7 separate regions of the Homo sapiens genome follow, and regions 1, 3, 4, 5, 6 and 7 are each linked to region 2. Evidence: promoter capture Hi-C in 16 types of primary human blood cells and fetal thymus (Javierre and others, 2016). All regions are on one chromosome and are shown on one strand. Each heading gives the region's core, a stretch centred on a gene start or on the middle of the fragment in contact. The rest is flanking DNA. Distances are from core to core; before and after follow the strand shown. Region 1 overlaps MRPL50 (mitochondrial ribosomal protein L50). Region 2 holds the start of SMC2 (structural maintenance of chromosomes 2). Region 3 overlaps LOC105376184 (a long non-coding RNA gene). Region 4 has its middle 8.6 kb from the start of RNF20. Region 5 overlaps RNF20 (ring finger protein 20). Region 6 overlaps RNF20 (ring finger protein 20). Region 7 overlaps ZNF189 (zinc finger protein 189).

What was found. The method cuts DNA at HindIII sites, captures the fragments that hold promoters and counts their contacts. A CHiCAGO score of 5 or more calls a contact.
Region 1: a contact is called between a fragment that was not itself captured here and the fragment with the promoter of SMC2 in region 2, in 4 of 17 cell types (total B cells, total CD4 T cells, non-activated CD4 T cells and 1 more). The highest score is 6.8, in total B cells.
Region 3: a fragment that was not itself captured here is called in contact with the fragment with the promoter of SMC2 in region 2 in 1 of 17 cell types (total CD4 T cells); the score reaches 5.1 in total CD4 T cells.
Region 4: a contact is called between a fragment that was not itself captured here and the fragment with the promoter of SMC2 in region 2, in 1 of 17 cell types (total B cells). The highest score is 5.1, in total B cells.
Region 5: a contact is called between a fragment that was not itself captured here and the fragment with the promoter of SMC2 in region 2, in 1 of 17 cell types (M0 macrophages). The highest score is 5.4, in M0 macrophages.
Region 6: a fragment that was not itself captured here is called in contact with the fragment with the promoter of SMC2 in region 2 in 1 of 17 cell types (non-activated CD4 T cells); the score reaches 15.7 in non-activated CD4 T cells.
Region 7: a fragment that was not itself captured here is called in contact with the fragment with the promoter of SMC2 in region 2 in 1 of 17 cell types (activated CD4 T cells); the score reaches 5.1 in activated CD4 T cells.

The regions. Positions count from the first base shown.
Region 1 is chr9:101,391,098-101,394,386 of GRCh38, reverse strand. The region is part of intron 1 of MRPL50 (mitochondrial ribosomal protein L50); the gene reads left to right. Among named protein-coding and RNA genes, the nearest start is that of MRPL50, 5.9 kb to the left of the region's middle. The HindIII fragment of the contact is 477 bases long and covers 1,731-2,207 here.
Region 2 is chr9:104,092,377-104,095,969 of GRCh38, reverse strand. SMC2 (structural maintenance of chromosomes 2) reads right to left here and starts at 1,661. Exons shown (of 25, transcript NM_006444.3): 1 at 1,493-1,661; 2 at 418-646. The coding sequence starts at 585. SMC2-DT (SMC2 divergent transcript) reads left to right here and starts at 3,496. Exons shown (of 3, transcript NR_121580.1): 1 at 3,496-3,593. RefSeq lists enhancers at 1,041-1,708, 1,927-2,246, 1,709-2,378. The HindIII fragment of the contact is 5,032 bases long and covers 1-2,094 here.
Region 3 is chr9:101,457,576-101,461,013 of GRCh38, reverse strand. LOC105376184 (a long non-coding RNA gene) reads right to left here. Exons shown (of 4, transcript XR_001746862.2): 4 at 1,925-2,073. Among named protein-coding and RNA genes, the nearest start is that of TMEM246-AS1, 9.1 kb to the left of the region's middle. The HindIII fragment of the contact is 1,717 bases long and covers 912-2,628 here.
Region 4 is chr9:101,523,363-101,527,105 of GRCh38, reverse strand. It overlaps a transcript of PGAP4 not described here. Among named protein-coding and RNA genes, the nearest start is that of RNF20, 8.6 kb to the left of the region's middle. RefSeq lists an enhancer at 2,242-2,741. The HindIII fragment of the contact is 3,734 bases long and covers 69-3,743 here.
Region 5 is chr9:101,540,907-101,544,360 of GRCh38, reverse strand. RNF20 (ring finger protein 20) reads right to left here. Exons shown (of 20, transcript NM_019592.7): 5 at 3,386-3,454. Among named protein-coding and RNA genes, the nearest start is that of RNF20, 8.8 kb to the right of the region's middle. The HindIII fragment of the contact is 3,161 bases long and covers 147-3,307 here.
Region 6 is chr9:101,558,976-101,562,724 of GRCh38, reverse strand. It overlaps RNF20 (ring finger protein 20), which reads right to left. Exons shown (of 20, transcript NM_019592.7): 17 at 1,799-1,924; 18 at 1,495-1,635; 19 at 714-815; 20 at 1-479. The coding sequence ends at 303. Among named protein-coding and RNA genes, the nearest start is that of RNF20, 27 kb to the right of the region's middle. The HindIII fragment of the contact is 1,418 bases long and covers 677-2,094 here.
Region 7 is chr9:101,408,486-101,411,996 of GRCh38, reverse strand. ZNF189 (zinc finger protein 189) reads right to left here. Exons shown (of 3, transcript NM_003452.4): 3 at 1,343-3,511. The coding sequence ends at 2,348. Among named protein-coding and RNA genes, the nearest start is that of ZNF189, 11 kb to the right of the region's middle. RefSeq lists an enhancer at 3,154-3,511. The HindIII fragment of the contact is 1,453 bases long and covers 1,219-2,671 here.

The sequences.
Region 1 (3,289 bases), core at 720-3,219, 2.7 Mb after region 2:
GCCAGATTACCGGCTTTGGTGGTGTAAGCTAATCCATTGAGTGCAGGGTCTGCAAAATATCTCAAGCACTGACCTTGAATTTTACAATAGCAGTGTTATCCCAGGAGCAATTTGGGGAGGATCAGACTCTTGCAGCCGGAGTCTGAATGACCCCTAACCATAATTTCTAATCTTGTAGCTAATTTGTTAGTCCTACAAAAGCAAACTGGTTCCCAGGCAAGAGGGAGGTCTTTTCAGAAAAAGGCTATTACCAATTTTGTTTCAGAGTCAAACTGTAAACTCATTTCCTTCCCAAGGTTAGTTTGGCCTATGCCCAGGAATGAACAAGGACAGCTTAAAGGTTAGAAGCAAGGTGGGGTCAGTTAGGTGTGGTCTTTTTTTTTTTTTTTTTTTTTTGCTTAGCATTACTTTGGCTATTCAAGGCATTTTGTGGTTTCATACGAATTTTAGGATTTTTTTTTCTATTTCTGTGAAGAACGTCATTGGTATTTTGATAAAGATTACATTGACAGTATATCGCTTTGGGTAGCATAAGCATTTCAACAACATCAATTCTCCCAATCCATGAACGTGGGATATCTCCATTTTTTGTGTGTCCCCTTCAATTTTTTTCATCAGTGTTTTATAGTTTTTATTGTAGAGACCTTTTACTTCTTTGTTGAAGTTTATTCCTAGATTTTTTGTGTGTGTGGCTATTGTTAATGGAATTGATTTCTTGATTTCTTTTTCAGATTGTTTACTATTGGCATATGGAAATGCTACTGATTTTGTATGTTGATTTTTGTATTCTGAAACTTTACTGAATTTATAATTTCTAAGAGTTTTTTTGGTGGATATTTAGGTTTTTCTAAATACAAGATCATATATCAACAAGATATATAAGATCATATATCTTACGTATGATACATAAGATCATATATCTTACGTATGATACGTAAGATCATATATCAAATAAGAACAATTTGACTTCTTTTCAATTTTGATGTACTTTATTTCTTTCTCTTGTCTAATTGCTGTGGCTAGGACTTCAAGTTCTGTGTTGAATACAAGTGATGAAAGTGAGCATCCTTGTCTTGTTCAAGATCTTAGAGGAAAGGCTTTGAGTTTTTTCCCATTCAATGATGCTAGCTTGTTTTGTGTCCTTGTTTGGTGGGTTTGTCATGCATGACCTTTATTATGTTGAGGTATGTTCCTTCAGTATCCAGTTTATTGAGAGTTTTTATCATGAAAGGATGTTGAAATGTATGAAATGCTTTTTCAGCATCTATTGAAATGATCACATGATTCTTGTTCTTGATTCTATCAATGTGATGTATCGAATTTGTTGATTTGCATATGTTGAACCATTCTTGCATTCTGGGATGAATCCCACTTGATCATGGTGAATGATCATTTTAATGTGTGGTTTAATTCTGCTTGCTAATGTTTTGTTGAGGGTTTTTGCATCTGTGCTCATCAGGAATATTGAACTGTAGTTTTCCTTTTTTATTTTGTCTTTGTCTGATTTTGGTATCGGGGTAATGCTGGTCTTGTAGAATGTGTTTTCCTTTTTTATTTTGTCTTTGTCTGGTTTTGGCCTCAGGGTAATGCTGGCCTTGTAGAGTGTGTTTGGAAGTATTCTCTCCTCTTCAGTGTTTTGGAATAGCTGTGGTAGAATTCGTATTGATTGGCATTAGTTCTTCTTTAAATGCTTGCTAGAGTTCAGTAGTGAAGCCATCAGGTCTTAAGCTTTTCTTTGATGGGAGACTTTTATTACAGCCTCTTTCTCATTATTTCTGTTTGGGTTTTCTTTTTCTTCGTGATTCAATCCTGGTAAGTTGTCCGTGTCTAGGAATTAATCCATCTCTTCTAGGTTTTCCAATCTATTGACTTATAGTTGCTTGTAACAATCTCTAATTAGCCTTTAAATTTTTGTGATATCAGTGTAATATCTCCTTTTTTGCCTCTGATTTTATGTATTTGTGTCTTCTCTGTTTTTTTTAGTCTAGCTAAAGGTTTGTTGATTTTAACTTTTCAATAAACCAACTTTTTAATTCATTGATCTTTTTATTGCTTTTTTAGTCTATTTTATTTATTTCTACACTGATCTTATTTCTTTCCTTCTACTAATTTTGGATTTGGTTTGTCTTTTTCTAATTTAAGGTACATCTTTAGATTGTTTATGTGAAGTTTTTCTTTTTTCATGTAGATGTTTATTACTATAAGCTTCCCTCTTACTACTGCTTCTGCTGTATCGCATAGGTTTTGATGTGTTGTGTTTTCATTTTTATTGCTTCAAGACGTTTTAAAATTTCCTTCCTAATTTCATCATTGACTCATTGGTCATTTGGGAGCATGTTATTTTTTATGTAGTTGTATAGTTTCTAGAGTTCTTGTTATTGATTTCTAGTTATATTTCATTGTCGTTAGAAAAGTCCTTGATATGATTTTGAGTTTTATGAATTTGTTAAAACTTGTTTTGTGTTCTATGATACAGTCTACCCTGGAGAATGTACCATGTACTCATGAGAAGAATATGTATTCTGCAGCAGTTGGGTGAAATGTTCTCTAAGTGTCAAGTCCATTTGGTGTAGAATGTAATTCCAGTCTTTCTTTGTTGATTTTGTCTGGATGATCTGTCTGTTATTGAGAGTGGGTGTTGAAATCCACAACCATTAATGTATTGTAGTCTATCTCTTCCTTTAGATCTATTAATATTTGTGTTATGTGTTTAGGTTCTCCAATATTGGTTGCATATATATTTATAATTGTTATATGCTTTTGCTGAATTGACCTCATTATGATTATGTAATGACCTTCTTTATCTCTTATAGTTTTTGACTTGAAATTTATTTTATCTGATATAAGTATAGCTACTCCTGTTCTTTTTGGTTTCTGTTTGCATGGAATATCTTTTTCCATCTCTTCACTTTCTGTGAAGTAGAATGTAAGTAAAATTAAAAGTCAGGTAGGATGTGATACACTCTGAGAGCAGTATAAACTGCTGAAGAGATCACATGAAATCACAATTATATTTGATTCTGGAAATTAGGTAAAGCATCTTGGAAGAGAACAATTTTATCCTAAGACTTACAGAATAAGCAAGATTTCCATAGGTGAAGATAAAAGACAGGCATTTTAAGATATGACTTGAGCCAACACATTGTGTCAGGAAAGTGGGAGTGTGCTTGGGACACAGGATATAGAGTATCACATGGAGTATATGTAGGTAATCAGTGAAAGGTAAGACCAGAAAGGTAGATTGGGGTGGGATCTTGGAGGATGGGGAATCCCAGACAATGATTTACCT
Region 2 (3,593 bases), core at 412-2,911:
GACACTTTTCTCTACAGAACCTTTTCAACCCTGAATTGAATTGTTTCCTATTCATTTTTTAATAAAAAGTTACTTTGCAAGATATAAGGAAATACTGTCCCAAAGATTTTCACTAGTCATTCAATCCATTAATAGGATTTGAAAAGGCATCATTACACAGGGTTGAAAATACTCTGGAATGAGACTGCTTTACAGTCAGAATGCCTGAGTTTTGAGGCACTGTTACTTCTAAACATCTCTAAGTTTCTATTTTCTCATCTAAAGGAGTAATATTACTTTCCTTAAAAGGTTGCAGTGAGGTGTAATTTACAAAAAGTATAAAAACACAAATGAAGAGAATATCGGGACGTCTCCAAAGTTCAGTGAGGATTCTCCTGCCAACTTAAATTCAAATAAATCAGAAAGTTTACACTTTACCTGAGACAGGTTGGAGATGCCCAGCAAAAAGCAGATGGAGTCCAATATGTTGGATTTCCCACTACCATTTAAGCCAGTGATAGCATTGAAGAGGGGGTCAAAACCATTGACTTCGGTCCTCTGAGCATAGGACTTGAATCCCTCTAGAATAATTGACTTAATATGCATTTTCGATACTGTCTTGGGTCAGCAAACCTCTGACAGGAATCAAACAGGCCACAAACCAGTTCTGTACGAAACAGAAATACCACCACCTAAGTGGAATGTAAACCTGGAATCATAATGAACACGAGGCAAAAACAGCAACGATAGGGTGATAGAAATAAAACAGCCACTTGACAAACTATCTTGTCTGATGTAAAGACATCGTTCATCTACTCAAAAATATACCAGAGTTAGCCACTATCTGGAAATTAAACCATTCAACTGGGAAGTCTTAACTATTTCTTCTACCCGTTTTTCCAGGCTTGCCTTCTACTTTTATCATACTCTACCTAAACAAAGACTATGGATTATTACATATCCCATTATCTTTGCCTATAATGTGCTTTTCTCTGATACTGACATAGCTTACTCTCTACTGCACTCACGTCTTTGCTCAAATGTCACCTTACTGGAGTCCTCCCTGACCTCCCTATGTCACCTCTCCACAATCCTTCACTCGGCTTTCTTTTTCCTTCATGGTACTTAAAGCTGATATTAGACGGTCATTACTTGTCTGTAAGTTCCCGCAGTGTCTTCACCTACGTCCGTCATTGCATCCCCGAATTGTGCTTGACTCCGGGAGGAGGGGAAGTCATTTAAGTATTTACTAGAGATGAGATGTATCTCATATTCTCCAACTTCTTGCTTTTACTCAGGCTTTTACCTCGCTTCTCCAGGCCTGTCTACACCTCTTCGCCCTACTCCAAGGTCGAACAGAAGCTAGCCTTTATTTCTAAGGATCACCTAAGGTCCCTCTGCCACTGGTCCCCCTCCCTACAGCCCCCGCGCCCCGCGCCCCGCCTCCCGCCTCCCGCCTCCCGCCAGGAAGTCTGGCCCGGCCCAACCGGCCGTGCTCACGCACACGCCTCACCGCTGCCTCAGGCCAGGGGCTTGACGCACCCCAAAAGCTCCTCCGGGTCACAAAGGCAGGGAACAGAACAACTCTCTAGCCGGGGCCGCTACAAAGCGAACTTCACCATAGCGGCTACAACACCTGCCACACCGCTCTCAACACCCGCGCCGGAACTATTTATTCCTTTGAATTTCGGCGCGAGCAAAGGACCCCACCTCCATTGCTTATTTCCTGTGCTGGTGCCTAGGAGCTGCCTGTCTTTAGGGTTCAATTTTTCCCCTACACTCGAAGGATTAAAGCCGCAGGGCAATAGAATGAGAGTCTCGATAATGGTAGCTCCGGGGACTCCCCGGCAGGGGCCTGGGCACTACAGGAGCAGATAGTGTATGTTCACACCGGCGTCCGGCACTCTATGGTCAGCCCCACACCTCGGCCCCGGGTCCTCGCGCTTCGCCAGCCCCGCCCCGCCTCGGTCCCTCTAGTTCGCGTTAGGCACACTGCAGACTCCGCCTTCTCCAGTCTGCGGTGCTGGCTGTGGCTTACTTTTCTCTCCTCAAAGCGACAGTTAGGAAGTGGAGAGGCATTCTATGAGTGTTCTCGTCGGTTCTGTTTTGGAAGCTTCAGAATCTTCTCGGGTTGGCTCAGATTGCTGCAAAATAAAAGCTGTACTTCTTGGGGCCAGAGAGGCACCGTCCTTCGGGGGACTCTGGCCCGCGTCCTGGCTCCGCCCCGTACTGGCCTCGGACCTCGGGGAGCGTTTTTATCTGAAGTTTCCACGTCGGAAAGGGATCGTAGTCTACCGAGAGCTGTTCCGAGCCCAGAGGAGAAATTGTGTGGTGCTAAATAGCTATTCATCTCCCTTATACCGGAAAGCGTTGTAATGATAAGCCGACCTAACCTGTTGGGGATTTTTTCTGGAAACCTTTTAAGACAGTTCATGTTATTGAGTTCTGAATATTAGGCTATATTGCAAGGGGCTTTTTAAAATCCACGTAGCAACCCTATGAAATCAGAAATTGCCCTCGTTTTACAAATGAGTTAAATGAGACCAAGTAAAAGGTTAAACAGCTTGTCTAGTAAGCTGGGATTTGTTCCCAGGCGGTCTAGCTCCAGATTGCATGCTTTTAAATACTAGGCTTCATGCATAGAATCTAGTATTATTAGCCGATCCTATTATTAGTATGTATTGTTCTTTAGGAAGAAAAAACGTGTCAGGATTGCTCACGTTTCCAAGCACGTTGATACTTAAGAGTTAGGAAGGGCTTAACTCCGAATGGGTATGGTGTTACCCTAAGTGAGGTTCAAAAAGATGGTGTGGGCAACAATGCTATTTTGGAATGGCTTGATCCTTTTGGGCTTCCATAACAAAATATCCTAGACTGGGTAGTTTATGAACCACAGAAGTTTATTCTTCACATTTCTGAAGGCTGGAATGTCACAGAATAAGGTGTGTCTAGGGAGGGGTGCTTTCTCTTTAGTGGATAGCACCTTCTGGCTCTGTCCTCGCATGGTGGAGAGGCAGAGGCCCTCGCTTGGGCCTATTTTATAAGGACCTTAATCCCATTCCTCACTTCCCAAGATGCCACTTGCTAAAACCGTCAGTTCGGGAGTTAGGATTTCAAAATGTGCATTTTGAGGGACACATTTAGACCATAGCGTAGGTCATGTTTTTAAAGTTGCTTTCTTGGCCCTGGAATGGCAATGCAGTCATCTGAATTGGTCTTAACCTACCAGGAATGGGCTTATATTTTGAAAATATTTCTCGATAAGGGAGTAAAATAAGTTGTATGGGTTTTTTGTTTAAGAAAGGATTCCTTTGTTTACTCTGGTATGCTTATCCACTTCTGTGATGTCAACCATGGGTAGTGACCTAACATTAATTTAATTCAACAGATATCTTTGTCTGCCTTGATTCCTGCATCCCCTGGGCTCCACAGCTATTCACTTGTATTGATTCTGTTAACTCTTACACATTAACTTTGAGCTGTGTCTCCTTCCTTTTATCATTTTGTGAGTAAAGAATTTTAATTTGCCAACAAATCCTAATGTGGACTTTGTCACGTTGTGAAATAAAGTGATTTTTTGGTATGGAAATATGTGTTAAGACAGACTGTTAGTC
Region 3 (3,438 bases), core at 521-3,020, 2.6 Mb after region 2:
GATACAATACAGATGAGATTAGTTTGAAAAAGTGGCCAGTCCTATCTATTACAACTCAGTCAGAAGAAGGAACAGCTAACCAAGAAGTGGACCCCAGCAGAACCCACCTATTTACTCAGGGGCTAGGGTCAGAGATGAGGTGAAGCAAGAGATGATATGGGGGTATATCTGGATCCCCCCAACAACTCTGCAACAGTTTACTTGATAACCGAAGTCATACCAAGCAGGATCCTTCAGTGTCATTTACTGCCAATGTGCCTTTGACAAGGATAAATATGCCTGGCAAATATCCGGGGTGCTACCTTGTCTGGTATCTAACAAGGCAAACCTTGCCATGCAAAGAATAAAGGCATAGACCCAGTTACTTTCTAATTACACAGCAAACAAAAAAATGAAGCTCTTTAGTATACAAGTGAATTTCCTAGCCACAACTACCTCAGGAACTGGTGGTTTCCACACTATCCCCAGTTTGATACCCGAAGTAACAAAGAAAAACAACTTAAAAATCAAAATTGTCTATATAGCCTTCATTTAGACATCACAAAAACTCTGAGAGATTACATTTTAACTTTCCATGTGAGGCAATCAGAAACTATCCTGGCCGGGCGCGGTGGCTCACGCCTGTAATCCCAGCACTTTGGGAGGCCGAGGCGGGCGGATCACGAGGTCAGGAGATCGAGACCATCCCGGCTAAAACGGTGAAACCCCGTCTCTACTAAAAATACAAAAAATTAGCCGGGCGTAGTGGCGGGCGCCTGTAGTCCCAGCTACTTGGGAGGCTGAGGCAGGAGAATGGCGTGAACCCGGGAGGCGGGGCTTGCAGTGAGCCGAGATCCCGCCACTGCACTCCAGCCTGGGCGACAGAGCGAGACTCCGTCTAAAAAAAAAAAAAAAAGAAACTATCCTAAGCTTACTTCTTTAAGAGTGTGCAAATGGGAGCATTTATAGGTGATACAAAGAGATAAAAAAGAAGAGCATCGATCTATCAGAGAAATATCTTCCCATGAAATACAGTTGCTACAACAAATAAGAGAAATTTTAGAAAATTCCAAATCAAGTTTTTGCCAGATTCAAGAGGACTCTGAGCCAGGTGTGTGTGGCTCATGCTTGTAATCCCAATGCTTTGGGAGGCTGAAGTGGGAGGATCACTTGAGCCCAGGAGTAAGAGGCTGCATTGAGCCATGATGATCACACCACTGCACTGGGTGACAGAGCAAGACCCTGTCTAAAAAAACAAACAAAAAAAACTTCAAGAGGACCTTGAAACTTCAAATCGAGAGCACATAGTCATGAAACATTAATGAAAAAAAAAAAATCTAGAACCATCTGTTGGTTGTAGTGAATTTGATAAGCCTGTCTGGATCAAATTTCTTAATCCTATCCTGCCACCTCCTTTCAATACCTTGAAAAACGCCACCGTTTAGAGTATGTGCACAAGTGACAAGTTATGGTCCCGAATCATGATCTCATCCATCCTTGTGAGCTAGGTTGGACTGAATGTCTTGAGCCCAAATGAGTCCTCTTCCTGCCCATGGGGCTTCCTTCACTCTGGTTCTTCCTTAGTCTTCTAAGTGGAGGGAGCAACATTTTTAACTGGGAGGGATAACCCAATGTCTTTCCATAGAACCAGCTTCACGGGAGCAAAGGAAGACGCCATTCAATAGAAAATACCTAACAAGAAAGAACTCCAAGATCAAGTGGCATTGGAGCATTTATCCTAACACAGTTCAACTTATCTATCTACATACACCCTTCTCACTGGAAGTACTGATTCCATTCAGATATCAAAGGAGAAAGCCTTGAGCTCCCCCTAGAGAACAAAGCATGTAGCCAGTATTTCCTGATCTTAGCTCTCTGTAGGCTTCACAAGTCTTGCCTCCCCTTCTCTGAAAGAGGCACTGGCGCCTCTTACTGCCTTGGGCACACGTCTTTACAGTACTTACCGCATTGTGCTATTTGTTGCAGCTCCTCATTCCCTTTCACATGTGAGCCTCTTGACGGCAATCAGACTGTCATTAGGTTTTCTCTTCTATCCCTTAAAATGGTGTCTGGTGCAAAGCGGGCCCTCAGCAACTATGTTTGTTAGGGAAATAAAGCATTCAGGAGAAACAAAAAATATTAACATTCCTGGAATGTTAATATTTTGTCTTTCAGTGCTCAGTTATTTCTCCTGCTTTCTTTTCTACTTCTTTACTCCACCACATATTATAACTAGCAACTTACATAGCCCTTGTTCATGCAATATGACACTGAATCCTACAATTCTATGGGAATAGAATTTCCCTTTTACTCTTACTAGAAAAGAAAATGGACATTCAAACAGGTGAAGTGAGCTGCTTAAGGTCACATAGCCAGGAAGTATTAGAACAAAGAAACAAAGCCAGGTTTTTCTGACCAGATTTCATGATCAACTAGGTGACTTTACTGTGTTCCTTTGGATTTTTACCAGCTTTAGCCTTAGTTTGTCTGCAACCGCCACACATGCACACTGCATACACAGTATACACACATGCACACTGCACATAAATTAGCAAAATGAAGATAACTTCTTCTGGCTCTCCCTTCTTTCTGCTTTATAACATGATCACTGATTGTAAAGCATTCAAACAATATACTCATTCTCAAGCTTGATTGCACATTGAATCATCTGGGTAATTTAAAAAATTACTAGAACCTGGGTTCACTTCCAGTAGTTCTGACTTAATTTGTCTAGAGTGGGCTGAGCATTCAGATTTTTCATAGGTTGTTAATGTACTAAGTTGAGAACCACTGCAATACAGAAAACTGTAAATAATTTTTTAAAAATCTGTAATTCCTTGGCCAGGCGCAGTGGCTCATGCCTGTAATTGCAGCAATTTAGGAGGCCAAGGCGGGCAGATCACTTGAGGTCAGGAATTTGAGACCAGCCCAGCCAACATCGTGAAACCCTGTCTCTACTAAAACATACAAAAATTAGCCGGGCGTGGTAGTGCGCGCCTGTAATCCCAGCTACTCAGGAGGCTGAGGCAGGAGAATTGCTTGAACCTGGGAGACGGAGGTTGCAGTGAGCCGAGATCATGCCACTGCATTCCAGCCTGGGCGATAGAGCAAGACTCAGTCTCAAAAAAAATTCTGTAATTCCACCACTCTGAGATGATCACCATAGTTAATATTTTGGTGAATTTATCTTCTCTTTACATTGAAGCATACATCCAGTGTTACAAAAAAGGGATAACATGCAAGTTGTTTTGTAACTTAGTTTCTTTACCTGCACCCTTTTCCTCACCTGTATGTGTGTGTATGTCTGTATGTCTGTAGTGTGTATTCATATATACATTTTAATGGCTTTGTAGTATTTCACGGTATAAAGGTAATACAATCACTTAAAATCTCCTTCAGATAGATAGATAGATTGATAGATAAATTTTCTGTTAAAATCACTACTTCAGTAAACACCTT
Region 4 (3,743 bases), core at 686-3,185, 2.6 Mb after region 2:
TCACTGTCACAACTTCAGGAAACACTGATCTTAAATATGCACATGCTGATATATAGTGAATTCAAGCTTCATCTTTATTGCAGGATGATGGTAGTATCTCCTCCCAAAGGCATTTATAAAACAGGAGACACATGAGTTAATTTGGAAGAGGTGGAAGGAAGTTCAGGATTTCCTGATATCCCTTCCCTGTTCTTCCTCCCAAGCATAGTTCTGGTTGGTACCATTTACTTTGGAAAAATGGAATAAGTCATTATGCTTCACTTATTGAACTAAACCTTGAAATTACAATTTATGAACCACCCTAGAAGCTGGATTCATTTGCATCATGTACTTGAATAAGGTTTTGAAAGTAACTGGGGCCAGGCGCAGTGGCTCATGCCTGTAATTCCAGGAGTTGGGAAGGTCAAGGTGGGTGGATCACCTGACGTCAGGAGTTCAAGAGCAGCCTGGCCAACATGGTGAAACCCCATCTCTACTAAATACACAAAATTAGCCAGGCATGGTGGCGCATACCTGTAGTCTCAGCTACTTGGGAGGCTGAGGCAGGAGAATCACTTGAACCCAGGAGGCAGAGGTTGCAGTGATCCAAGATCATGCCACTGCTCTCCAGCCTGGGCGAGAGAGTCAGACGCCATCCCAAAAATAAATAATAAAAATAAATTTAAAAAAATAAAAGTACTGGATGCCAGGGTAATAGAGATTTCAATAGTACAGGGAGAAAGATACTTTTAATGGACTATGTCCAAACCATGCAGCAAATTTTGACATTACATTGACATTTCAAATATTCAGTTAACCTTGAAGACTATTCCCTTTCTCTTTTTCTTATTTGTGCTTGCTTTTATTAATAATCTAATAATTATGTGGGTAGCCACTTACAACAGAGTGATGGCCAAGGCTAATTAGATCAGTGTGTTTGAAATGTGATCTTAACATTTAGAAGAACAGCAAGGAGATGTGTTGCTTCAAGCTGTTAAATGCTAAAATATGTGAAGTACTGAACATCTTGTTTTGTATTTTTTTCTTCTTATGAAAACTGTCCTTTTATAAATAAATGTCAATTTGTACCAAAAGCCTAAACTATGTCATACCCAATGATTCAGCTATTCCAGGTTTGATTATATGCTTGAAAAAAATAGAATCACATACTTGTTTAAATATGACTGTACAAAAATGTTTAACATAGCATTATTTATTACTTAAAATTTTTAGAATCAATTTGTATAAATCATGAAATGTCCTCGAATATAGAATTCTATGTAGTCATTAAAGTTGTGATATAGATTTGTATTTCTTAACACTGAAATATAAGAATATGTTGTTGAATGGGATAAGTCGGTTTCAGGAATATATGCATAACATTTATTTTCTCTCTCTCTCTCTCTTTTTTTTTTTTTTTTTTTTTTGAGACGCTCTGTTGCCGAGGCTGGAGTGCAATGGCGCAATCTTGTCTCACTGCAAGCTCCGCCTCTCGGGTTCAAGTGATTCTCTCTTCCTTAGCTTCCTGAGTAGCTGAGATTACAGGCACCTGTCACCACACCTGGCTAATTTTTGTATTTTTAGTAGAGACAGGGTTTCGCCATGTTGGCCAGGCTGGTCTCGAACTCCCGACATCAGGCAATCTGCCCACCTCGGCCTCCCCAAGTGCTGAGATTACAGGCATGAGCCACTGCGCCCGCCAACATTTATTTTCATAGGAAAAAAAAAACATTTAAAACCAACGTATTACCAATTTTAGACGTACACAAATTGTCTCCACTTGTAGTCTCTGCTTCCTCATCTCCTATTCACTCTATTCTCTAAATGAAATATTTCAGCTATTTACGTGTAAATAAATATGAAGGGGGTTTAATATGTAAACTAAATAGCAAGCACAAACCTAGCTATTTAAAGAGAGGGCTTACTTTAGAAAGCAGTTTGGAGATTTCTCAAAGAACTTAAAAAACAACTACTATTTGACCCAGCAATCCCATTACTGGGAATCTACCCAAAGGAAAACAAATTGTTCTACCAAAAAGACATGCACTCGTATATTCACTGGTACACAATTCACAATAGCAAAGACATGGAATCAACCCAAGTGCTCATGAACGAAGGACTGGAGATAGCAATCATCAGGGCAGATGGGAGGCAGGACTAGATTGCCGCTCCGGACAGAGCAGCGTGTGGGAGCTCGCATTATGAATTTTAGCTCCAGATCGACTACAAGAACAAACCAGCAATCCCGAGAGGACCCACAGACCCTCTGAAGGAAGCGGACTACTCCTGCAGGACCCAGGAGAGCCCCCTAAAACTGTGAGTGCCCCAACTGTGGAAGTAAGAAAGGGAGGCCCTCTTCTCCTGAACACATACCCTCACTGAAGAAGCTGAAAGTCTGTTTGTGGAAGAAGTTTTTGACTTTACCTGGAGCTGAGTCAAGTTAGCCAAGTGAAATACAGGGGTAGAGGAAGCAGCAGTAAGGCCCTGGGAGCTCACGGGGTCCCCCAGCAGCCCATTCCTGGCTGGCACCACAGGGATCCATCGGGAGAGTAGACAGAGGAGCAGGGGCTAAAACTCCACAGGGAGAAAGAAATCTCTAGCTGAATTTTGTAACAATTTGAATGGGGTGAGAAGCCTCGTGGCCAGAACTCAGGGCAGGGCAAATCTGGTGTGCAGACTCACAGGCTGAGAAGGAACGAAGCCCTTTTCTTTCGCAGCTGGGAGGTAGATAGCCTGGGGCCGGTTTTCAAGCCATATAGCCCTCCACCTGGAAACAGACTGGGGCTGTTGGCAGAGGACACAGTGGGAGTGAGACCAGCCCTTCGGTTTGCATGGGAGCTGGGTGAAGCCTGTGACTGCCAGCTTACCGCCACTTACCTGACAACCTGCATGACTCAGCAGAGGCATCCATAATCCTCATAGGTACATAACTCCACTGATCTAGTGTGCTAAGGACCCTCACGGAGTCCATTGCACACCCGCCCCCCAACCTCCACCAGAAAAGGCGCTAGTGTCCATGACTGAGAGACCCATAGACAGTTCACATCACAGCACTCTTGTGCAGACAACCCCCAGTACCAGCCCGGAGCTGGGTAGACTCGCTGGGTGCCTAGACCCAGAAGAGAGATAACAATCACTGCAGTTCGGCTTGTAGGAAGCCACATCCATAGGAAAAGGGGGAGAGTACTACATCAAGGGAACACCCCATGAGACAAAAGAATCTGAACAATAGCCTTCCACCCTAGACCTTGCCTCTGACAGAGCCTACCCAAATGAGAAGAAACCAGAAAACCAACCCTGGTAATATGACAAAACAAGGCTCTTCAACACCCCCAAAAAATCACACTAGTTCACCAGCAATGGATCCAAACCAAGAATAAATTCCTGATTTACCTGAAAAAGAATTCAGGAGGTTAGTTATTAAGCTAATCAGGGAGGGACCAGAGAAAGGCGAAGCCCAATGCAAGGAAATCCAAAAAAAAAAAAAAAAAAAAAAAAAAAAAAAAAGATACAAGAAGTGAGGGGAGAAATGTTCAAGGAAATAGATAGCTTAAAGAAAAAAAAACAATGAAAAATTCAGGAAACTTTGGACACATTTTTAGAAATGTGAAATGCTCAGGAAAGTCTCAACAATAGAATTGAACCAAGTAGAAGAAAGAAACTCAGAACTCAAAGAAAAGGTGTTCAAATTAACCCAATCCAACAAAGACAAAGAAAAAAGAAAAATATGAACAAAGCCTCCAAGAAGTCTGGAATTATGTTAA
Region 5 (3,454 bases), core at 478-2,977, 2.6 Mb after region 2:
AGCACCTTGGGAAGCCAAGGCAGGCCGATCACTTGAGGCCAGGAGTTCAAGACCAGCCTGAATAACAAAGCAAGAATCATATGCTCTTATCACATATTCTCATATCATATATTCTGAAATACTATGTTAGGGGCACTTCTGAAGCTTAAAAACCAAAATGTACACTACTATTTACAAAGCAGGTAGGTAAATCCATAGAACTTATTACACCAAGTTCGTATGTTTAAAATTAGAGTTGCAAATACTATAGCTGAAATCCAAATGTAATTAAATGAAACCAGATACTCTCAGGATATATACCACCCATCAAAGAGAGTTATCAGGAAGAAAAATATGCTTTCTCATATCACCTCTTGGCATTACTCTTAGTATCAATACAGAACAGGTTGGTCATATGGTGGTTTTCATGGTTTTCAAGCTAGGCTTGCCCATCAGAATCACTTGTGGAACTTTTAAAATAGACATTTCCCTAGGACCTATCTCATACCTACTTAATAAGAACCTCCATGGGCAAAGCCAAAAATAAGAATATGCTCAGAAAACTCCCAAGGTTATTCTGATTCATAACCTGAGTTAAGAAGTAGAGACTGAATTTTAGTCCTCTCAATATCCTAAGCACTGAGGACAGGGCTAGAATACAATAAAATTCAATAAATGTTTAGTGAATTTATAAACAAGCCCATAAATGCAATTCTTTTGAATCAAAGACCAAACAAACAGACAGTACTGCCCTGGCAGGTTAGACAGTGCCGCCCTGGCAGGGTTAGACAGTGCCGCTCTGGCAGGTTAGACAGTGCCGCCCTGGCAGGTTAGACAGTTCCGCTCTGGCAGGGTTGGACAGTACTGCAGTGGCAGGGTTAGACAGTGCCACCCTGGCAGGGTTAGACAGTGCTGCCTTGGCAGGTTAGACAGTGCCGCCCTGGCAGAGTTAGACAGTGCCGCTCTGGCAGGTTAGACAGTGCCGCTCTGGCAGGTTAGACAGTGCCGCCCTGGCAGGGTTAGACAGTGCCGCCCTGGAAGGGTTAGACAGTGCCGCCCTGGAAGGGTTAGACAGTGCCGCCCTGGCACGGTTAGACAGTACTGCCGTGGCAGGTTAGACAGTGCCGCTCTGGCAGGGTTAGATGAATTTATAGACCTTACTCTATAAGGCCTATACTTGCTCTAGAAGGCCTTACCTTACTCTAGAAGGCCTATCATATCATAGGGGATTTTGTAAAACACAACACAACTCCAAACCTCCAAATAATGAATTACCCTAAATATAAAAGACTGTATAGTGTTATTGAGGAATGGCGTGGTAGAAATTCCACAGGGAATGGGGAAGTAGAAACTACTGTATTGATGATGTCCTAGGAATTTGAGGAATGTCAATTTTCAGTCTAAGTCAGGGGGATGAACTTTCAAACAAGTTACAACTGATGCTATAATTCATACTTTATACATCTTTATCTCTTAGAAAGTTCAGCTTACCAATGGCAATTGCCTTTTGTGTTACAAATAATGGCATGGCTATTTGTAATGTTTCTACTTTTTAACTTAAACCCGACCTTAAAATGCATGCCATTAAATAGTAATTTTAAAGTCGTTTGATATACTACTCATTTTATTCCCTTTTTAAATAAAACAATTGTTTCACTTGATATTCATTTATGAAATCAAGTTTAACATAGTCTATGCACATGGCATATTAATTACCATATTACTAAAATTTAACAATACCTTCTAACTATTCAATTAGAGCCCAAGGAGAAAGAAGCATATGTGCACACACAAAGCACCATTATTTTATATTAGGTGACAGGGAGGTTCACATCCATTCATTCCCCATTGACTAAACATCTGCTAGATGCCAGATGCAGTGCTAGAAACTAGAGAAACAAAGAAGAGTGAGCCAAACTACTGAACCAAGACACAGTTTAGCTGGGGACATGCAAGTAGATGTAAGATATTAATACAAAAGTACAAAAGTCTGAGAGGACATAAAACACATTGTTTAGAATGGTTATCTTTTGAGAAATGAGAATGGGGAAACTTTTGTAGTCTACTTATTTGTATTTCTGACTTGTATATTTTTAAACAAGTATCTGTTTTCCTTATAATAAAATACAGAAATGCATAATCTAATGGAAAAGCAAAAGAAACCCGTGACCAAATTTTCACAGGCCTTCTACAAGCTGCTTAATTCTGTTGACAACTTAGCCCAATTACCCTTAAAAGCAAAATTACAGAATAATACAATTCTTATATGCTCATCCAATGGTTCAACCTCCATTACATTCAACTTATTTCCTTCAGAAATGAAAGGTTAAACATCTTAATGATAAGCAGGGAAATTAAGATATTACAACTAGACCATGATTATTATTGAAAACATGAAATCAAGGCATTTTTTTTGCATTTGAGCAAGGTATTTATGCCACAAATGACTAAAGATGTAACCTAGCTACACAAATACTTTACTGTACAAATTTAAATTTTTGCATTAACTCTGAGTAACACAATTATCCCAAATAATTATTTTATTTCAAATACTCTTTCATCCATAGAATATTTTCTAATAATCCTTTTAACCATACAGATCATCTGTCAACTCTAAAACCTGCACCAACTCTTTTTAAAAACATTAGCGATAATGAAAAATAAGTTAAGTAAAAATTAACTTTTTCAAGTCAAAATTCTGTAACTAATAATTAAATAATATAGTTGTTATTTAAAATAAAGTATTATCACTATAAATCAATAGCCTACATACACGATAAACAGATCCAGATATTAGAGCTGTTTATTAAATAATAAAGTTAATTCTGCTATTTACAAAACTGTCATTAATAGAGTATATCAGTATAGAGCTGATAAACTCTTTCCTCAGCTTATTAAAGGACTGTCATGTGGCTCAAAATGAGAAGCACTGATAAAAGATTAATATGCCATAATGAAGACATTACCAGTAACACTGAAGGTTAGAATTTCTAAAAATTTAATTAAAATATATAGTCCAGGCACAGTGGCTCATGCCTGTAATCCTAACACTTTGGGAGGCCAGAAGAGAGGATCTCTTGAGGCCAAGTTTGAGACCAGCCTGGGCAACATAGCAAGACTTCCTCTCTACAAAAAGGTTAAAATATTAGCCAGGTGTGGTAGTACGTGCCTATAGTCCTAGCTATTCGGAAGCTGAGGCAGAAAGATTGCTTGAGTTCGAGGATTCAATGGGCTATGATGGTGCCACTGTGTTCCAGCCTGGGTGACACAGTGAAACCTTATCTCTTAAAAAGTAAATAATAAATAAATAAAAATAAATATGTAAGCTTGCAAACTACAAATTAGCATGCAAAAATGAATTCTTATTCCTCCTCCACTACTCCCGGCCTCCAGGGTCTTGCCTCACCTCCACTGTTTAGCTTCCGGGATAAGAGCTCCACTTTTTCTTGCAATTTATCATAAACAGTCACAATCT
Region 6 (3,749 bases), core at 136-2,635, 2.5 Mb after region 2:
AGTGGGCTGGAAAAAGAAAACACTGAAAAGTCTAAAAGCACAAAATAAACAAAGCTGGGAGGGAAGACAGTAAGAGTTATTTGTTTCTAATTCATTCTGAAACCCAAGGCTTGTATTTACCAGTCCTTTCTGCTAAAGTCATCCAGCTACTGAAGAGGAGAGCCTGGAAGTAAAGTCTGGAGGAAAGGTAGTTGACTGATAAACTGTCCTACAGGTGACAGTCAAGGAGAGAAGAGGTAGAGGTTTGGTGGTTAATGAATAAGTTCCTGACTAGCCAGCTCCTCTTCTTCTCTTGACTTAGATCAACCAATGTAGATGCGATGAAAATCATTGGCACCAAAAGCAGCATTACACTTGGGACATTTGCGCTGGCGGGTGTCATAGCGTGTCTTCACACACTCAAAGCAGAAGACATGAAAACACTTAGTAAGAACAGCATCCTTTTTACGCATGTTACAGCACGGACAGGTCAAGCGTGCCTAAAAAGAAAAGATGTCAGAGTTTGAACAACCATGAAAGTTTATGATCCAAATGGCTCTCATATACTACACAACCAAGAAGAAAACCCACAAGGCACTAAAAAAAGAGCATCATTTCCCCCCAACCTCCAAAATAAACCATTCTCTGGTTACTATCATGCAAATTATTCTCCCAGTCTATTAGGCCACTTAAAGCTTTGACAAAAAACTAATCACTAAGGCATTTTTTCTAACCTTGTAATCCTTAATCTCTTCCATCAGAATCTCATCACACTTGGGTACATTGTCTGGTTTCTTTGTGGTCTCCAGCTTCCTGCGAAGTCTAGAGATGTCCTCCTGTGGCAGGATAGCATACCCATTAGACACACTTACCCAAATCTATCATTTTTGAGAAAAATAATAGACTTGAGTTTTCTGTTGTGAAAAGAGGGGACTTTCTATCCTTTTATGGTCAATTATCTTGTAGAAATGTAGAGAACTGCAAATGGCAGGATATTTTCTTTTGTTTCAGAAGAGGCAACCATAATTATATCCCCAAATTAGAATTGCATCTATTACCAATTCAGTCCTGTGAAAACACATCTAAGAGTTTAGAGGACAGTCTATTTTGTTTTATAGTAATTAGTTTTAAGCTGAAGGTAGAACGGTTTAAAATAATTCAGAGACTTACGGATAAAGACAGAAAGACATCATGAGAAACAGCTAGCATGACAAAAATAGAGACATTATACAAGAACTTGAAAATCCTCTACTGCTGCTATGCTGTTACTTCTTTAACAATTTACTAATTCATTAATTTAACAAATATTTATTTTGTGCCTACTAGGTGCAAGGCACCATAAAAGAGTCTGAGGATATGGCAGTGAAGAAAACAGACTTACTCTCTTCCCTCAACAAACTTCCTCAAGTCTAGTAGGAAATGACATACATTGGACTAATGATTCTTTCATGATATGGGTCACTTCCGACCTCAGAAAACACCTAAAAGGTGACAAGAAAAGACAACTGCTTTTACCTGGGCTCGTTTGAAATTGAACATGTCCTTTTCTTTGGTAACACTGTTCTCCACGATCTCATCCTGAAAATCATGTAGCTTCTTCTGAGCCAACTCCAGTTGTGCTTTGAGGTCATCTGCAAGCTGGGCTGCCTCCATTGCCTATGTAGGATGTACAAATAAGTGACACCATTGTATCACCTATTATTGCCAGTGAGGCAAAATGTTAGCCCAAGTTGAAGGAATAAAGCGAACTTACAATCTCAACAGTGTTATACTTATTTGTTCCACTGAGACTAACCATCATTAGATTAATCAATCATACCTTGCGTTTATTCATCTCTAAGGCTTGGGTCCTAAGACCCAGCTCTTTCTCCCCTGTGCCAATGTTGCTCTGTAACAGATGCTCCTTCTCTTCCAGTTTCCTTACTACCTGTAGCTGGGCATCAACCTTTGAACAGAAAATCAGATTTTAACACAAATGAAAAGATTAAAAAAAGAAAAAAAACTATTCTGTTAATCTATAAGCCCACAAAATACAGTATGTTAGAAATCTCAAACTATTACTGATTTTGCCCATGAACCCTTCAAAATACATCAAGACTATGATAACTGAAAGCTTTACTTTTAATATAAAATATTGTGGAAGATTCAGTAAGAGTCTGAAAAATGACTGAAAAGATTCTTTTCCAAATTGCCAAAAATAGAGAATGCATGCTAATGCTTAAAACCTGGCAATTCATACTATAACATATAAATTAGAACTCAAACAAAAGTCCAAGAGTATTTCCTTCAGAATGGCTAGACATTCTAAAAGAGTCTTTTTTGAAATTAATGCACAAAGTAGAATCAAACAATATTAAAGTGTAAAAAGTAAAATCACAAACACCCACCTCCTAACCTCACCCACAACTCATCCCAATATGTAGAGGTAACCATTCTAACAGTTTCTCACACTGCCTTCAAAAAGCATATCAAAAAGATAGTCCACCATGATCAAGTGGGTCTCACACCAGGGATACAGGGATGGTTTGACATCCACAAGTCAATAAATCTGATACACCATATAAACAGAATTTTTAAAAAATCACATGATCATCTCAATAGATGCAGAAAAAGCATTTGACAAAATCCAGCATCCTTTTATGATTAAAACTCTAGCAAAATCAGCATAGAAGGGACATACCTTAAGGTAATAAAAGCCATCTATGACAATCCCACAGCCAACATTATACTGAACAAGGAAAAGTTGAAAGCATTCCCCCTGAGAACTGGAACAAGACACAGATGCCACTCTCACCACTTCCATTCAACATGGCACTGGAAGTCCTAGCCAGAGCAATCAGACAAGAGAAAGAAATAAAAGGCATCCAAATTGGTAATGAGGAAGTCAAACTGTCACTGTTTGCTGATTACATTATCATATACCTAGAAAACCCTAAAGACTCATCCAGAAAGGTGCTAGAACTGGTAAATGAATTCAGCAAAGCTTCACTATACAAAATTAATGTACACAAATCAGAGCTCTGCTATACACCAACAGCAACCAAACTGAGAATCATATCAAGAACTCAAACCCTTTGACAACAGCTGCAAAAAAAATAAAATAAAATACTTAGGAATATACTTAACCAAGAACGTGAAAGACCTCGACAAGAAAAATTACAAAACACTGCTGAAAGAAATCACAGATGACACAAACAAATGGAAACACATCCCATGCTCGTGGATGGGTAGAATCAATATTGTGAAAATGACCATACTGCCAAAAGCAATCTACAAATGAAATGCAATTCCCATCAAAATACCAACATCATTCTTCACGGAACTAGAACAAACAATCCTAAAACGCATATGGAACCAAAAAAGAGCATACATAGCCAAAGCAAGACTAAGCAAAATGAACAAATCTGGAGGCATCACATTACCTGACTTCAACCTATACTATAAAGCCATAGTCACAAAAACAGCATGGTACTGGTATAAAAATAGGCATGTAAACCAATGTAACAGAATAGAGAACCCAGAAATAAAGCCAAATACGTAGTCAACTGATCTTTGACAAACCAAACAAAAACATAAAGTGGGAAGGGACACCCTATTCAACAAATGGTGGTAGGATAATTGGCAAGCCACATGTAGAAGAATGGAACTAGATCCTCATCTCTCACCCTATACAAAAATCAACTCAAGATGGATCAAAGACTTAAATCTAAGACCTGAAACCATAAAAATTCTAGAAAGCAATATTGGAAAAATCCTTCTAGACAATGGCT
Region 7 (3,511 bases), core at 696-3,195, 2.7 Mb after region 2:
TTTAATAAATGGTCCTGGGAAAACTGGCTAGCCATATGCAGAAAGCGGAAACTGGACCCCTTCCTTACACCTTATGCAAAAATTAGCTCAAGATGGAATAAAGATTTAAATGTAAAACCTAAAACCATAAAAACCCTAGAAGAAAACCTAGGCAATACCATTCAGAACATAGGCATGGGCAAAGACTTCATGACTAAAACACCAAAATTAACTAAAACACTAAAGCAACAAAAGCCAAAATTGATGAATGGGATCTAACTAAACTAAAGAGTTTCTGCACAGCAAAAGAAACTAGCATCAGAGTGAACAGGCAACCTACAGAATGGAAGAAAATTTCTGCGATGGCACTATGCAGAATGACACCATGGCACATGTATACCTATGTAACAAACCTGCACATTCTGCACATGTATCCCAGAACTTAAAGTATAATTTTAAAAAAATGATTTTTTAGGGTTCTATGTTTTTTATAAGCAATGATGTGTATATGCAGTCAAGAACTGTTCACTGTTACTGGAGTTCTGAGTTGTCCAAGGATTTTAAAATTAAGAAATTTCTATAAATTCCAGATTCATGTCCAAGGATATTAAAAATTATGTAGGACTACCTCATACAACCATAGCCTCAAACTACTATGAGGTCAACAGCAGCCAGTGCTTCTGCTATGGAATATAACCGTACATGAAACTGATGTGACTTCAACAAAAAGCAAAGAAATGTGTTTCAGTGTACATGCAGTGAAAACATACACAATAGATTTTTAAAATACTGAGAACAGGTCTAAGAACCTCATTAGTTGAGATCCTGATCTGGGAACCACTAGTGTAAAATAAGTACAACTGGGAAGGTCCAGGGCAGGAAAATTTTATATGAGTCAGGTGCAGTATGTTGTTTTTTGTACTTTTCCTTGGACTACAAATTGTTTTGAAATGTCAACTGTATAGTAACTATGAGTACCTAATTTGAATAAGGGAGTGCACAAAGATATGTATCTTTCTATACATGTACCATAATCTCCACACTCACATGCAGGTACACACATAAAGAGATGGGAAGATGAAAGTCTGGAGGTAATTTTTGGAATGACTGAGGTACAGGAGAAGGAGGGGTCATTTGCTCAAACTATTAGGAAGCTGGAATTACAGAATTCTGCTAATTTGGAATTCTATACTCAGAAACTGAAGAACCTGGGCTTAATTGAGCTACTCCAGAAAAGCTTAACTAGTCACACACAGAACAAATGACAGCTATTTCCTTCCTATTTTTGATTCTAATTTTAAAAACACAGTAATGCGTTTGACAGAATTGGTTTTACACTAAAGTAACAACTCTTACACAAAGCTAAAAACAAAACAGGTTTTAATGGTTAAAACAGATGAATTAATAGGTTTATAATAACCATTAACTAAGGGAAGCCCTAGAACAAGAAATAAGGATTTTTAATTGCATGCAAAACCTAGTTACCATAAAAACCAATGCAATACCAAAATATCTCAGCTTCCTAGCATAGACTCCAGGTCTTTTCATTTCCAATACTTGGCAGTCATAATATGTACACTTTCATATGCACCTGGTTGTGGAGGGATAAGCTCATTCACATAGGACTACAAATATCTCTCACAGGTAGGAGGGCACAAAAGAACAATATCTTCCTCCACTTTTTTGGGTCCATCTTGAAAAACAAAAAAGGCACTCCCAAAGGTTCCTTGGTAACACCTTTGTTAGGTTTCTTAATTACTAACATAATCTTTACATGTAAGGTTAATGGTCCACTCATTTCATAGATCTGGGAACCATCAGGCATTGGAACTGCCTTTAACTCACATGCCAAACAACTGGCTTTCTTAAACAATGACAAAAACTGTATACTTGTTTTAAAAACATTTGGGCTTTGTTTCCTTGACAACTTATATATGCTTAATCACTGGACTTTGGCATGCAGAGCCAAACATATCATGGAACTGAAAGAACCACAATATGACATGGTGACAGAAGACTCTTTGAATCATTATTCTGTTTTCCACTATCAGCTGCTCCAGCTCCCTTATACTAATCCAACTTTGTCCCTCAGAGCACCCATGCTCTGAACCTAGGTTTAATCTCTCTGCTGAAAGATTTATTAAAGATACTTAGATAAATTACCAAGTCTTTCTCTACGATCATCAAAGAGTAAGGGAAGTCAAATGCTCATGGGCAGTTGTCCACTATTCACAGAATCTTTAGAAACTATTTGCCTGAGGCCAAGGAGAATTTGCTTTATCACTAAATCTGACCCATGTTGAGCCATACTAAAACTGCACTTGGGTACTAGTCTCAAATCAAATTGAGCTTATGTATTGCTCTACATTTATTGCATCCATGCTGTGTGCAATTTCTGATGCTGAATAAGAGAAATACGGCAATTAAAGGCTTCACCACAAGCGTCACATTCATGGGTTTCTTGGGTTTTCACCTCTGCATGGATCTTCTGATGGTTGACAAGACTGCGCTGTTGACTGAAACTTTTGTCGCACTTCTCACACTTATAAGGTTTCTCTCCTGTGTGTATTCTCTGATGCTGAATAAGACCCGAGTTCCGGCTAAAGGCCTTTCCACATTCATCACATTTATGGGGTTTATTACCTGTGTGAACACCCTGATGTCGAATAAGATTACAAAGCTGACTAAAGCTTTTTCCACACTGTCTGCACAGATAGGGTCTCTCACCAGTGTGGATTCTCTGATGTTCAATAAGAAATGAGCTCCGGCTGAAGCTTTTCCCACAGACAGTACATAGATAGGGCTTTTCACCAGTGTGGATTCTTTGATGTTGTACAAGATGAGCACTAACACTAAAAGTTTTCCCACATTCATCACATTTATAAGATTTCTCCTTAGGGTAGACTTCCTGCTGTATAACAAGACTGCAATTTGGATCAAAACTTTCCTTAGTTTCATTGTATGGATAAGTCTTCTCCCTGGTGTGAATTCTCTGATGCTGAATAAGACCTGAGCTTCTACTAAAGGCTTTTCCACATTCCTCACATTTATGGGGCTTGTCTCCTGTGTGAATTCTCTGATGACGAGTAAGGTTGCAAAGCTGACTGAAACTTTTCCCACACTCTTTGCACTGATAAGGTCTTTCACCAGTATGGATCCTCTGATGTTCAATAAGGAATGAGCTCCGACTGAAACTTTTTCCACACTCAATACAAAGAAAAGGCTTCTCGCCAGTGTGAATTTTTTGGTGTTGTATAAGGTATGTGCTTAATCGAAAGGCTTTCCCACATTCACCACATTTATGGGGTCTTTCCCCAGTGTGAATTCTTTGATGCTCAACAAGCAATGAATTTCGACTAAAGCTCTTCTTACATTTGGTACAGTGATAAGGTTTCTCACCAGTGTGAGTTCTTTGATGCTCAATAAGGTGTGATTTCCAACTGAAGGCTTTCCCACAGTCACTACATTTATGGGGTTTCTCACCTGTATGAATCCTTTGATGTTTAACAAGGCTCCTTCTCTGGCTGAAGCT